2 separate regions of the Homo sapiens genome follow, and region 2 is linked to region 1. The links are contacts of gene promoters, found by promoter capture Hi-C in blood cells and fetal thymus (Javierre and others, 2016). All regions are on one chromosome and are shown on one strand. The core of a region is centred on a gene start or on the middle of the fragment in contact, and the rest is flanking DNA. Distances in the headings are between cores, read along the strand shown. Region 1 holds the start of MED4 (mediator complex subunit 4). Region 2 overlaps HTR2A (5-hydroxytryptamine receptor 2A).

Region 1 (6,939 bases), core at 3,094-5,593:
CTGTGCATTTATTTGATAGTGTTTGTATGAGGGGTTCTTCAAAAAGTTCATGAAAAGTGTGTATTATAGAAAAACTATAGATGCATTTCAAAATATTTTTCCACCAAAATAAAGTCATACTAACTTGTTATAACATGTATGAACAGGATCTAGTTTGAGGCACAAGAAGGATAAGACATCAGTTTGACAAGAGCCCCTATCAGAACAATATGAATTCTACTAAAATTGAAGCAAGAATATCAAATTGATGGTGAAGCTTGTGTGGAAGAATGGTGAAATCTTGATGCTTTATGAAAAGTTTATGAGGACAATGCCCTAAAGAAATCAGCAGTTTTACAAATAGAAAACTCATTTGAAGAAGGGATGAGATGATGTTGAAGATAAAGCCTGCAGCAGCAGACCATCCACATCAATTTGCAAGGAAAATATTTATCTTGTTTGTGCCCTAATTGCAGAGGACAAGCAATTAATAGACAACACTATAGACATCTCAATTTGTTCAGCCTATACAATTCTGACTCAAAAACTAAAGTTGAGCAAACTTTCCAATCAATGGATGCCAAAACTGTTATGCCCAAATCACCTGCAGACAAGAGCAGGGCATTCAATGGAAATTTTAAACAAGTGAGATCAAGATCCTGAGGCACTTCTTTGAAGAGCTGTAACAGGAGATGAAAAATGGCTTTACCAGCACAATCCTGATGATAAAGCAAAATCGAAGCAATGGCTATCAAGAGGTGGAAGTGGTCCAGTCAAAGCAAAAGCAGACCAGTCAAGATCAAACAGCATGGCAACAGTTTTTGGGATGCTCAAGGCATTTTGTCTGGTGACTTTCTGGAAAGCCAAAGAATGATAACAATGGCTTATTATGAGAGTGTTTTGAGAAAGTTAGCAAAAGCTTTAGCAGAAAAACACCCGAGAAAGCTTCACCGGAGAGTCCTTCTCCACCACAACAATACTCCTGCTCATTCCTCTCATCAAACAAGGACAATTTTGGAAATGTTTCAATGGGAAATCATTGAACATCCACCTTACAGTCCTGATCTGACTTCTTTTTGTTTCCTAATCTTAAAAAAATCTGGGCCAGGCTCAGTGTCTCATGCCTGTAGTCCCAGCACTTTGGGAGGCCGAGGGGGGTGGATCACTTGAGGTCAGGAGTTTGAGACCAGCCTGGCCATCATGGCAAAACCCCATCTCTACTAAAAATACAAAAATTAGCTAGGCATGGTGGCACATGCCTGTAATCCCAGCTACTCGGGAGGCTGAGACAGGAGAATCACTTGAACCCGGGAGGTGGAGGTTGCAGTGAGCCAAGATTGTGCCACTGCACTCCAGCTTGAGCAAGACAACAGAGCAAGACTCTGTCTCAAAACTAAATAAATAAATAAAATCTGTAAAGGGCACTCATTTTTCTTCAGTTAATAATGTATTGGGAGGATTGCTTGAGCCTGGGAGGTCAAGGTTGCAGTGAGCTGTGGTTGCACCACTGCCCTCCAGCCTGAGTGACAGAGAGTGAGACCCTGTGGCAAAAAAAAAAAGAAAAGAAAAAAGTAAAAAAGACAGCATTGACACGGTTAAATTCCAAGGGCCCTCATTTATTTAGGGATGAACTAAATGGCTGGTATCGTCATTTACAAAAGTGTCTTGAACTAGATGGAGCTTATGTTGAGAAATAAAGTTTATATTTTAAATTATTATCTTTTAATTCCATTTTTCCATGAACTTTTTGAAGTCCTCTCATATTTTAGGTCAGAGGTTCCCAGTCCTTTTAGTACCTGAATATCCTTCTTTCTTTACAGAGAGCTGGGATAACCAGTGGTAAAGAGCACAGACCCTGGAGCCAGACTCTGGGTTCAGATTCCAGCTTTGCCATTTACTATATGACCCCGGCATGTGTCTTAACATTTCTGCCCCTCAGTTTCATTATCTGTAACATAGGGATAGTAACAGTACTTACCTCATAGGAGTGTTAGGAAAATTAAACAAGTTAATATTTTTGAAGTGCTTAGAACACTGCCCACCATGTCAATAAAATTTCATGAGAAAGTAGTGTCCTTTTTGAATCTACAGATTGAGAAAATATGTACCTAACTCCAAATTACCATGAATTCAGTAATACTATATAAAATAATTCATATTTGTTTATCACGCCTGGATTTGTACAATTTGCAAGACAGTATATCTGTGAAAGATGCTATTACTTATCAGTCTATAGAAACTGTTTAATATGCATATGAATTTGCAATAAATCTGAGGAGGTCAGGAGTTCACAATACACATACATGCTCCACACACTGATCCTCAGTGTCTGCAAAGTAGGACTATAATTGGTCATTTTTAACTAATTAGAATCCTTCTAGAATTTTTATGTTTACACTAATATAATGTTCTCTCTCCTCCTACCAGAGTCATGGCTCAATATGACCCGTGAGAGTTGAGTAAACAAAACCAACACATACCGCAGAAGTTTGGCACCCTGGAAACTTAACATAAGAAATGATTGACTAGAGTACTGAGAGGCATGTTTAGAATGCAAGTGTAATGAACAAAGCTTCAATCTACTTTAGCCCATTGCCTGAGAATTGACTGCATTAACAAAAAAGGGTTAGCCAACAGCAGATGCAGGGAACGGTCAGAAAACAAAAGGTGACAAGGATCTCTTGCACTGTCTAGAGGAAAAGGTACCCTGACCTATGAACACAAATAATCCAATCTCTTGAACACAAATATCCCTACACTGTGGAGACACAAAGCCTCATGATTGTGTCATTAATTTTTAATCTATCCTTGTTTGTTCTGATCCAAGTTTAACAAGCAACATCCTGTGATAATATGGCTTCTCATATAGTTTTGTCTATGGGAAAAAGATATGTTTGGCACTATTACTTTTCATCGTAAGTGAGTAAATCAGCATTCTAGATTACGCAGCAGTTGCTATGAGTGAATTTATTTAACATGAATTTCTAAAAGACTTGTCAACTCTGGGTGCCCAGGAGTCAGGTTTAGCACCTCCAAAAAGACAGAGTAGAGGATGAGACCCTGAAATGAAAGGACTACAGGTACTACTACCTCATGGGAGTGAGGCAGTCCCAGACCATCTTTTATAATAGCAATATGGAATCCTCATTCCCAATAGGCTTGTAACTTTGCTTTTTTCTGGTAGAGAGTGATCCCTACTACATTGTTATCCCTAGGAAAAGTAGGCTAAGACGTATTTTTGCCTTTGACAACCAGTTCTGGTTTGGAATGTGTGGTACATCAATGACTTAAACTATGTTAATTAACTACTACTTATGTACTGTATTGGTTCCTTCAGTTCAATAATTAACCTGAGTAATGAGCAAAACATTTTGTTGGAAGATGTATGGCTATAAAGATGGATTATAGCAATGTGGAAGTAACCTAACTGTCCATCGTCAGATGAATGGATGAACAAAAGGTGCCATATGCATACAATGGAATATTAGTCTTAAAAAGGAAAGATATTCCAGCACATGCTACATCATGGATGAACCTGGAGGACATAATGCTGAGTGACATAAGCCAGACACAAAAAGACAAATACTGTATGATTCTGCTTATATGAGGTACCTAGAGTAGCCAAACTTACAGCAATGGAAAGTAGAATGGTGGTTGCCAGGGCCTGGAGAAGGGAGGGATAAGGAGTTAGCATTTAGTGAGTACAGAGTTTGTTTTACAAGATAAAAGGTTTTGGAGATGGATAGTTGCTCAACAGTATGAATGTATTTAATGCCACTGAACTATCCACTTAAAAATGGTTAAGGTGGGCCGGGTGCGGTGGCTCACGCCTGTAATTCCACCACTTTGGGAGGCTGAGGCAGGCGGATCACGAGGTCAGGAGATTGAGACCATCCTGGCTAACAAGGTGAAACCCCGTCTCTACTAAAAATACAAAAAATTAGCCGGGCGTGGTGGCGGTCGCCTGTAGTCCCAGCTACTCGGGAGGCTGAGGCAGGAAAAATGGCGTGAACCCAGGAGGCGGAACTTGCAGTGAGCCAAGACATCCGCGGCGATGCACTCCAGTCTGGGCAACAGAGCGAGACTCGTCTCAAAAAAAAAAAAAGAAAGAAAGAAAGAAAAAAAACCATTAGGCCCAGGAGAATCAGACTGCGTTGCCCCCACTGTTCTCAGTTCAGCTGTCGCTCCCAGGGTTTGGACCAGAAAGCCCTCGCCGGCCCAACAGATGGCGCCGGTGTCCGCAGTGCGCCTCCAGGCCCAAAGGGGGCGCTCTCGCCAGGCCTCTTTTTCCTCTCCTGGGTGACTCTTCCGCCTTCCGAGCCCGCCTTCTCGCCACGCACCTGCGTCAGCTCGCTCTGCGCGTGCGCCGGTGGCGGGACTCTGGGGAAAATGGCTGCGTCTTCGAGTGGTGAGAAGGAGAAGGAGCGGCTGGGAGGCGGTTTGGGAGTGGCGGGTGGTAACAGCACACGAGAGCGGCTGCTGTCTGCGCTTGAGGACTTGGAGGTCCTGTCTAGGTAATGCGGCGAGCCTGAGAGCCGGGCTGGAGCTGGGCCGGGGGACTGACCCCGGAGCCGGCCGGCCCTGCGTTTGTGCTCGTTCTCGGGGTTCGGCGGGGAGGGCCAGCTCGGGAGTTTCGGGTGCATGAGGGTCATGGACGTGGGGTCCGCAGCCCTCTGGCACTCTGGGCGGCGGTTTTTCCCGTTAGAGGGAATTTTAGTAATGATAAGAACTCGCGCGGTCTGAGCCTCTTCGTCCGCGGCCAGCCACTTAACATTTATGGAACGCTCCTTGGGGGCTCAGCATTGGGGAGACGGTAGTGAAGGGTAGACTGGATGCCAGCTGTCGAGAGAGAGACAGATGTGTAAACTGGCTTGGGGCCTGTTTTTATTAGAGGGCTGCGCTGCGGGGTACTGGAGCACAGGGACTAGGCACCTTTTTTGGTTGTAGTCAGGGCAGGCCCTCTGAAGAAAGTGCTGCTTGGGAAGCATGAGCTCGCCAAACTCACTAGGCAGCACAGATAGATGGAACAGCAAGTGCAAAAAGCCTGGCTTGGTGGAGTTGCAAGTTGTTTAGGATGGTTGTGTGTCAGAGATAGGAGATGAAATTAGATGTCGTTCTTCATATTCTGTCACCTTTCATGATAAGTCTTTCAAGTTGAAGCCTTCCTTGACTCCCTCCCATTGACTTGGATGGTAAATTATCTTGGTTCTACCTCCTAAAGTGTCGCTCCAATTTGCCCTCTCGTTCCAACCCCGCTGTTCATAACTCCTTCTTAAATGTAGCCTCCCAAACAGTTTTAATTGCCTCATGCTTCTGCACTTTATCCTTTTATATTGGCCGATACCAGTTTTAAAAGGCATCTTATATCACTTTTCTGCAGAAAAATTATATAAAAGCTACCTCATTGGTAGGTTTGCGTTGTCCAGTGAGGTAAAGTTCAAATTCTTTAGTCAGACTTCCACATCTTCAGTGCCATTCCCAGTCTACTCCCGATTTGGTGAATGATTCATATATCCTTCAGAATCCAGCTCAAATGTCACTTTTTCTATAGCCAACATTCTTTGACAGCTTTAGAATAAATCTTACCTGTTGTATTTTAAAATATACGTGATATAATCAGCACTTTATTTTTGGTGTAAATTTAGTCCTTGCCATCGTATTGCTACCAAGTTACCAGGTCAGCACAATATTTAATGATGGAAGAAAACCCGAAAACACCTAGACAGCAGAAATTAAATGGCTTATGTGTTTGATCCACTGTTTAAAATAAACTGTATTAGGGCCGGGTGTGGTGGCTCACGCCTATAATCCGAGCACTTTGGGAGGCCAAGGCGGGCGGATCATTGGAACTTCTTCACAGAATGAAGCTGCTCTGGTGGTGTGACTGGCTTCCAGAAAGGTCTCATGTGTTCACTCAGAGGTAGTTATGTGTACTGATTCTGTGATCTGTGAAGTTTGTCAGTCTCTGAATGTAATTTGTGTCTGGCTTGCATTTATGAAAATGAGAAGAAAAATCACGAATATACCTTACATATTTTTAGATTTAGCCTCTTTAAAAATAGTGGATTTATAACTTAGGATCTTTTTTTTTCTATTAACCTGATTATATAGCCTTTCGGGATATTTATTAGTTTATAAAATGTAATGCAAGGAGATAGTCTTAAAAAGTTGAAACACAGGTTGTAGGCTAAACGTTTTTTTTAACCCATTTGTAACTCAAAACTCATTGTTCCACAGAACCATGTTGATAGGAATCTTGAGTTTTCCACACCAGCCTGTTAATTCTGTTTACCTGAAAAGTGTATTACTGCTAATAATGTAGGCTCTAACCGCTATGGAAATTTTATTTCTATGGGGAATTGTGTCTGGATTCTAATGCAGTATGCTGGGAATGCACCTTCTTTTTAGCAGGACAGGGCTCTTGAGTGTGGGGGCTTCCTTTGGCCTCTTTTTCGCAGTTGGGGAGGACAGGGGTTTCTATTTTGTCCTGGACTGTTACAGAACATGACTAAGTCTTAGAGACTTCTACCTCCCCTCTACTCCGGCGCCTAAGGCAAGCCTTGTAAAGCCTTCTGTGGACTCACGCTCCCAGATTTGCAAGAACAGAGGAAGGCTTATCCCACATCTCCTACCATAGCCCCACTCTAGTCAGCACCACTCCTGCCCCACCTGAAACCAGCTTTTACTTAGACCAGAGGTTCTCAACCGTCTATGTCTCACTTGTGGCGTACACTAAAAAGTTTACTTAACATGCTGTTTTCATACGCTGTTGATCCATCAGCAAGTCCTGTTAGCTCTACCTCCAAAAGATATCTGAAATCTGTCCATGTTTCTCCCATCACGATTACTAAGTCCTGGAGGCTATAACCTCGTCAAAACCAGTGTCATTTTTTGCCTGGAACACTACAGAAACCACCTAACTTACTTCCTGTTCTGGCCCTCTTACAGTCTATTTACCAG
Region 2 (7,511 bases), core at 3,294-5,793, 1.3 Mb after region 1:
GTGATTTTCCCACTATATTCATGCTCCAGTTTGCTGATACATACTTGTTTAATTTACCTGAAAGACACTTTGTGAAAAATAACGGGCCTAGATCCAGGATATGAGTCAGAACAGACAGGAATAAACGCAAGTCTCCTGATTCTCACTAGGCACCATGTTCTACAGCGATCTTTTCCCTTGTGATTTTAGCTGTTAAGGTGGTCAGCTCATGTGCTGGTTAATCCTATATGTGCCTCCCTTAAAAGAGTGTACGAATTATGTAGTATACAAATTTTGTATCATACAAATGTCCATTTTCTTTTTTCCACCCTATGTGGCTAATTGGCAGCCTCATTACTGTGTTTTCCCAACAAAAATGAAGGGAAGCATTACGAAATTATTCAGTAACTTCAAGCTGTGTCTATAAAGTGTATTATAATTCCCAACTCTCTCTTTTATTTTCCTCTCTCTCATTTGTTTACCCATCAATCCCACAAGCATTTACTAAGCTCTAAGTATAAGCAGAAGCACATTCGATGCTGGGATGTCTTACAATACACAAAGAAAAAGATATCCCTGCTATTAATGAGATTGTCATCTCATGAATATAATGACATGTCTAGAGAAAAATTCTAAGATATTGAAAGTGTGAACTAGCACAGTATAATTTATTTATGGAGGTGTTGAAGGAATATTGAGTAAGAAAAATAGTTCTTATTATAGAGAGAATTAATTTGGGGAAGGTTTCATATAGCGGATGTGCCTTGAGATACGTTTTGAAAAAAATTGTAGGGTGTGGTTTGGAAACATGATCTCCATCTGCAGATTCCCAAAGCACTCCCAAATAATTGTACAGTTAAAGTACAATAATGTGTTTTGTATGCAAATGTAGCCTCAAGACAGGTTGCCTCATTCCCCCATGCCCTCCAGCCGCCACTCCTAAGCCCCTGCTACATAGAAATCCTGGAGCCCCTACTCATTGGTGTAGCATTTCAGGGAAAGGAAAGTCATCAAAATTGGTCCAGGGCAAAAATGAAAAGTAAGTCTCTGTACCTCCCAGTAGCCGTTTAGATTGCCCCTTCCCCATGGTGCTCTGGGCTTTAACGAACAGCCCAGCATGGCACAGCCACCATACCTCCCTCAGACCTGCATCCCTGAGCAATCTTGTATGTCTTCCCTCCTAGGGCAACCTTCCTTTCCAAGGCCTATGCCCTCAGGAGTCCTCCCTACTATGCGTCTTTGTGCTGCTGCACCATGAACTTAGGTTAATAGTCAACCCTCCAGGGTATTATAGGTACACAGAATGGACCTCTCACTCTAACAGAGAGACACTGCAGTACAATAGTTTCCCCTTACCCTTGGGGCTCACATTCCAAGACCCCTAGTGGATGCCAGACACTGTGGATTGTACTGAACCCTATATATACTATGTTTTTTCTATGTGCACATACCTGTGATAAAGTTATTTTATAGATTAGACACAGTAAGAGACTAACAATCATTAATAATAAAATAGAACAATTATAACAATATGCCAACCTCACTACTCTTGCACTTTGGGGCCATTCTTGGGTAAAATAAGGGTTTCTTGAACACAAGCATTGTGATCCCACAATAGTTGATCTGCTGAAATGGCTACTAAGTGACTTATGGGCACAGAGCATCTGCAGCATGGATCCACTGTACCAAGGGATGGCTTACATCCCAGGTGGGGTGGAGTAGGACAACACAAGATTTTATCACACTACTCAGAACAGTTAACAATGTAAAACTTACGAATTGTTTATTTCTGGCATTTTCCATTTAATATTTTCGGACTGTGGTTGACTGGGTAACCGAAGCTATGGAAAGGGAAAGCAAGCTTAAGGGAGGACTACTGTATACCAAGCAAGCTACTGAGAGAAGACATATATGAGAGGAGGCAGGACTTGGGGGCTCCTTAAATCACACTCTGTGACTGGTTGAAAAATCTTGCTATGGGTAATATCCTCCTGAATAGTTCAAGACATAACATAAAGAAGAGAGCAACAGAGAGAGAACACCATATGACTATTGAGAAAGTTGAATAATTATGTTAAAATCAGATTACAAAGACCCTGTAGGGTGGGCTGAGTAGCTGGTAATTGCTCGAGTGTTAGGGACACTATAGGCTCTTGTGTAATATGATGGAAAAGGTGCTTTAGGATGCTGCATACAAGCGAGGCTGGAGGAAAGAGAACTGACTGTTGTGGGTCTAGATTATGTGCGCACCTGCCGCAATCTAGCTTTCCAGACACCATGGCTGTTTCTCCCCACACCTTCTAGACCAGAGTCTCTGAAATGAGACATGTCACATGTAAGACTCATTCTCCAAGCTTTCAGAGAGAATCACTCCAAAATCTGCCCCCTTGATAGAAATGGGAGAAAGGATACAATACTTTCAAGATGGGGCCCAATAATGTAGGACAGAGATGAGTTTTTTTTCTAAATAAATCTTTACTCATGAGCACGTTGCTAAATATGCAGCCTAGAAAAGAGCACCTGCTAGGGGTAGATAGTGTAATATCCACTCATTAAAAAAGAAGGAGGCAGGTCTTGATTTTGCCCCCAACTTTCTGTGGCATTGAAGAGTTTTATTTTTATTATTAATATTATTTTTCATTTGTGAATCATAATTGTATCATTGATGACGTACAAATGTGATATTTTGGTCGATGCCTACAATGTAGAATGATGAAATTAAGCTAACTAACATAGTGATCAGCAGAAGTTGCCTTATTACTTGTGATTCCAACAACAAAACAAGGCTCTGGTTATTTATTCAAATTATATTATATGGTTCAGATTCTCTTTGGGTTTTGTAATATATTGTCTGGGGGCTGAAATGGTAGATGAAAGTCAATCTTCTCTGAGACAAGAGAGATGTGGATGGGTTCTTAAGTGTTGCAGTGACGGCTGACAAGCCCCATCTACAAGCCAGAATTCAATCTCTTCGCCTTTCAGTGCAAGATCTTTATATTGAAGCACAACCTCTAGGCTATGAAATGGAAAAGAAAAGGAAGGAGGGTCAGAGGAGACAGAGACCACTTTATAAGGAATCTATGATGGGGGCAATTAGGCCACCAGCTTCTGCAGTGCACAACTGCTTACAGAGATCCCTGGAGTGGTTGTTGTTTTCATGTTTATGTAGTGCCTGGGCATTTATATTTTTTAAAGTACTAACATCAGAACCCCCGAGAATGAGGCTCAGGCAATGTAACTTTTAAAACTCCCTCAGTGATTCTAATGTGCAGCTACAGTTGAGAATAACTTCCCTAGTATTTGAAAGAAACTAAATGTTGATTATAAGGATTTTATTTTTGAACTATTTTTCTGGCCTCAATGAATTTAATGTCTGGCTAGAGGAACTTGTGGCTTTGAGATGAAAGAATGCAAAAACAAAATCAAGGTACAGAAAATCACTGGTGGGGGTGGTGGAGAGAGAGAGAGAGTTTGTGCTGTACATGCAACATCGGCGTATTAGTCTGTTCTCACACTGCTATAAAGAAATGCCCAAGACTGGGTAATTTATAAAGGAAAGAGGTTTAATTGACTCACAGTTCCACATGGCTGGGGAGGCCTCAGGAAACTTACGATCATGCCAGAAAGGGAAGCAGGTGCATCTTACATGGTGGCAGGTGAGAGAGAGCGTGGGAAGGAGGAACTGTCAAACACATAAAACCATCAGATCTCGTGAGAACTCTCACTATCACGAGAACAGCATGGGAGAAACCTCCCCATGATCCAATCACCTCCCACCAGGTCCCTGTCCCGACATGTGGGGATTATGAGGATTACAATTCAAGATGAGATTTGGGTGGAGACACAGAATGAAACCATATCAATTGGTGTAATTTAGTGCTTATTAGTCATATTAGGGGCTAGAATTTTTCTGCCCATCTAAGGAAAGATCTATCTCCAAGGAAATATACATATATACAAATTTTTCAGATTTTAGGATTATCATAGACTTCCTGAAGCCAATGTTAAAAACCTCAGAGGTAGTCATAGACTTTTGTAACTACCTTCAAAGGAACAAATAAGCAGTTTTTAAAAATCCACCATAAGAATTAAGAACCCTGAGTAGAGGTCTTGATTTTGCCCCCAACTTTCTGTGTGATTCTAACTAAATTACTTAAGCTTGGTAGGCCCAAGTTTTCATATCTGTAAAGTGAGATTTTCATCTGCCCCATAAGAAGGTGTGGGTAATGTTTTAACAATTTTGTAAAAATCAATTTAGAGTGAATAAACAAATATGTGTGATAATACCTTGAAAAGTTGCAATTTATTATCAGAGCTATTTGGAATTAATCTGAGAAAAAGAAACATACAGCTTTTGGGTAACTGACATGTTTGTGTAGCTCTCATTTTTATGTACATCTGCCTTGTCAACACACCATACATAGATTAGAAGGAATTTAGCCACTCTGTATCAGGATAGTGAGTCCCATTGGCAGTTGCCCTATATATTCAATTCTTCTTTCCCTGTAATATGAGGATTATCCTGCAGTGTTTACCAGTGGTGTCTTCTGTCAAACTACTAGTAAATTTGTTCTTATAACTTGAAAAATACAGCATGCATTAAAATTCAAAGAAAAGGTAGCAGTTTGGGGAAACAGAAACCTATGAACCCAAATTTCAATCTTTTTCACAAGAGCCCCGAAATAACTTCTCTGCCCTCCACCTCCTTTCCAGCTGAGGGCCCTAGGGACTGCCACTGTCCTGTTCCCTACAAGAGAATGGTTATCTAGGAAGGCAATCTTCTTATTTCCCAAGAAATGTACACTGTCTCAGAAAAAGTCCAAGATTAAGAATAAAGCCAGTCCTTCACAGCCAGCGGTTCAAAGTGAATTATTGATGCAGCCTGTGGTAAGATGTTAACTAGAGGTGCAAAGTTTATGTGCAGGAAGTAAGCAGAGCCATGCTGAAAGAAAGACACCAACCAAAGCTTTTGTGTTCTTAGGTGTCAAGGTTTCCCATTCATTTTATTGTCTGAGTTTCAATGGAAATGAATAAAATGCTACATAGAGGATCTAATACTGATAGTGAATTTTGACTGCTGTTTTCCACTCTTCAGAAAAAATATATTAAACAAAATGCAGAGTCATGTAATTCAGGTTACTGTCTGTTTTGTTCATAAAGGAAAATGCTTTATATGCAGAAATTTCAAGTGAGAGGAGATGTCAGGTCTCCAAAAGCAGCTATTGTCAAACAAAGCAGCCAGATAATTAATGCCCTAGAGATGGCTGTGACCACGATATTGGATATCAGCCCATGTCTTCATCTCTCTTGGTAGAGGCACATGCTTTTGAGCTGCTGATTGTACCCACAAAGCCTATCTATGTGTTCTAAGTTTTTTGACATAAAATTTCCTCTCCTCTTTATAGAGTATTACTTTAACTTTCTGGTTATTCTTTCTACAACCCTTGCTGACCAGATACTATGAGTGAGGCATGGAAAAAGAATGGTATACGATAGTATTCAGGATGTTTTTGTTATATGTAAAGATGAATAGGCCATTTAAATAACTGATCAGCTTGATTCTCCACTTCCAAATTAATATCCCCCTTCCAGACAGAACAGCTCTGCGTGTAACCTCTTACCACATCCTCTTGTAGAGTGGCTTTTTATCCCGGGCATTTAAGAGAGGGATTCTCTATTTCAGTGCAGATGACTCCATCACCCCTCTCAGAAACTGGGCTATTCTGTAAGGGTGTGTGTGTGTGTGTGTGTGTGTGTGTGTGTATGTGTGTGTCCAACCAAAGACACTATTCCAAATAATTAAAGAATTTGGCATTTTAGGTAAGCCCACATTCTGGTTAATTGAGAATTGCCACTTATGTACATTACTAGGTTATAAGCAAATAGGGCAAAAGGCTCTCAAGGTAGTTACTTCCTTTGTATTAATTAGAAAAAGAACACTCAAGAGTTTAATAACAAAATCACACACCTTTTTTGGACGGTTGATATCTTGTTTCTGTGTATCATGACTAATAGTAATGCTGTAATTCATCACATTAGGAAAGTAATCAACAGTTCTAGCTGCACAAAATTAAAATTGATTAAGACCCGGCGTCACCCTGGCAGAAGCTAAAATTACATCAGTGTTAACTCTACGGCCAATAGCCAAAAGTCTTTTTAGTCTCTTTTGGTTTAAAAAGATCTGCTATATAAAATCTAGTGTATACAAACTAAGCAAAATGGATTAGAATAAAATAATGTTGATATATTTAATATAAATAGTTCTGCAGAGAAAGCTACTCTCATGTTTATTGACCACTGGTAGAACATCACTATGGACTGGGTGCTGTGCTAGGTGCTCTGCAAATTTGATCCATTTTATCCTCACCAAATGCATGAAGGTATGTTGGTGCCAGCCTCCCACGATAGATGAAGAAGTGGGGACTATAGGAATGAAGTAACCAATTCAGGAGCCCAGAGCCACAGCCAAGACTCAAATCCAGGGATGTCTCAAATGGTTGAACAAAGCATCCTTTCTAATCAATGAGCAACTGTGCTGTCTAAGAAGACCTTGTACATGAGTACAGGAAATATCTTTCACAGATCTAGATTCAAACACTGGGAGAAAAACACTCTTCTTAGAAATCATGCCCTTACTTTTACAATCAAGAGTTTTCCGAAGGATAAGCAAAACTGGTCAATATCCAGGGTCTCAGAGGATGTTCTCCTTGGAGGCACAGCTCATCAATCTCTTCTTGAATGTTGCAAACAATGGGCCAGGAACAGAGAGGGATGGAGGAAATGAAGAGTCATTAGCCACAATAAGTGTCCTTATGAACAGCTCTGATGTCATTTATCTCCACCTTCCAAGAATCCTGGATGGGCTTGCATAGGCAAGTGACAAATATTGTTAATTAAGTCTTTGAAGATAATGGCAAATGTCACTAAGAAAGATTTGTGTTGAATATTACATCAACTCAGCGTTCTTTCCTGGCCACGATGGCCAATGTGAGGTGACATGAGGTTAGGACAGTCATGCCTGTGCTTGGATGAAGCGGAACTCTGTTCTGAGTATGCAGAAGTTAGATTAGAGATTCTCCAAAAACCTTTTTCCAGATGGATGGCAAGAGTGAGGCAGTGGCCCCCAATTCTGGAATAAACCGGTGTTCTTGGCTGGTGTGAGACCATGTATTAGACTCTAAAGACGGTCAGAAGCAGTAACCACAACACTCTTTGTTCTACAATTCTGAGTGTGCTGATAATATGGGCAGGAGTTAGAAGGGAACTATTTTTCTGACTTTTTCTCCCAGGCTGTCCCTGCAATATCTACCATTTCATGAAAGAAACAATCTTAAACTAAGTTATACAGAGTACTTGATTCATGTTTCCTCTCTTTTTTATCATCCTGATTCTACCTTTATGGCAGAGAGAATAAGCCATCTCATGATTGCCTTGGACCAACCATCCCAGGCCAGTAGAGAAAGATACACCTATTTCCCCAGGAGCAGAGAGGTTGTCCATGGTGGGGGCTGGGTGGTGAAACTGCACAACAT

Evidence for each region. Contacts are between HindIII fragments. The CHiCAGO score rates a contact against its expected background, and 5 or more counts as called.
Region 2: a contact is called between a fragment that was not itself captured here and the fragment with the promoter of MED4 in region 1, in 1 of 17 cell types (megakaryocytes). The highest score is 6.4, in megakaryocytes.

The regions. Positions count from the first base shown.
Region 1 is chr13:48,092,508-48,099,446 of GRCh38, reverse strand. It overlaps MED4 (mediator complex subunit 4), which reads left to right and starts at 4,343. Exons shown (of 7, transcript NM_014166.4): 1 at 4,343-4,493. The coding sequence starts at 4,369. RefSeq lists a silencer at 4,840-5,134. The HindIII fragment of the contact is 8,460 bases long and covers 2,554-6,939 here.
Region 2 is chr13:46,837,209-46,844,719 of GRCh38, reverse strand. The region is part of intron 3 of HTR2A (5-hydroxytryptamine receptor 2A); the gene reads left to right. Among named protein-coding and RNA genes, the nearest start is that of HTR2A-AS1, 11 kb to the left of the region's middle. The HindIII fragment of the contact is 808 bases long and covers 4,140-4,947 here.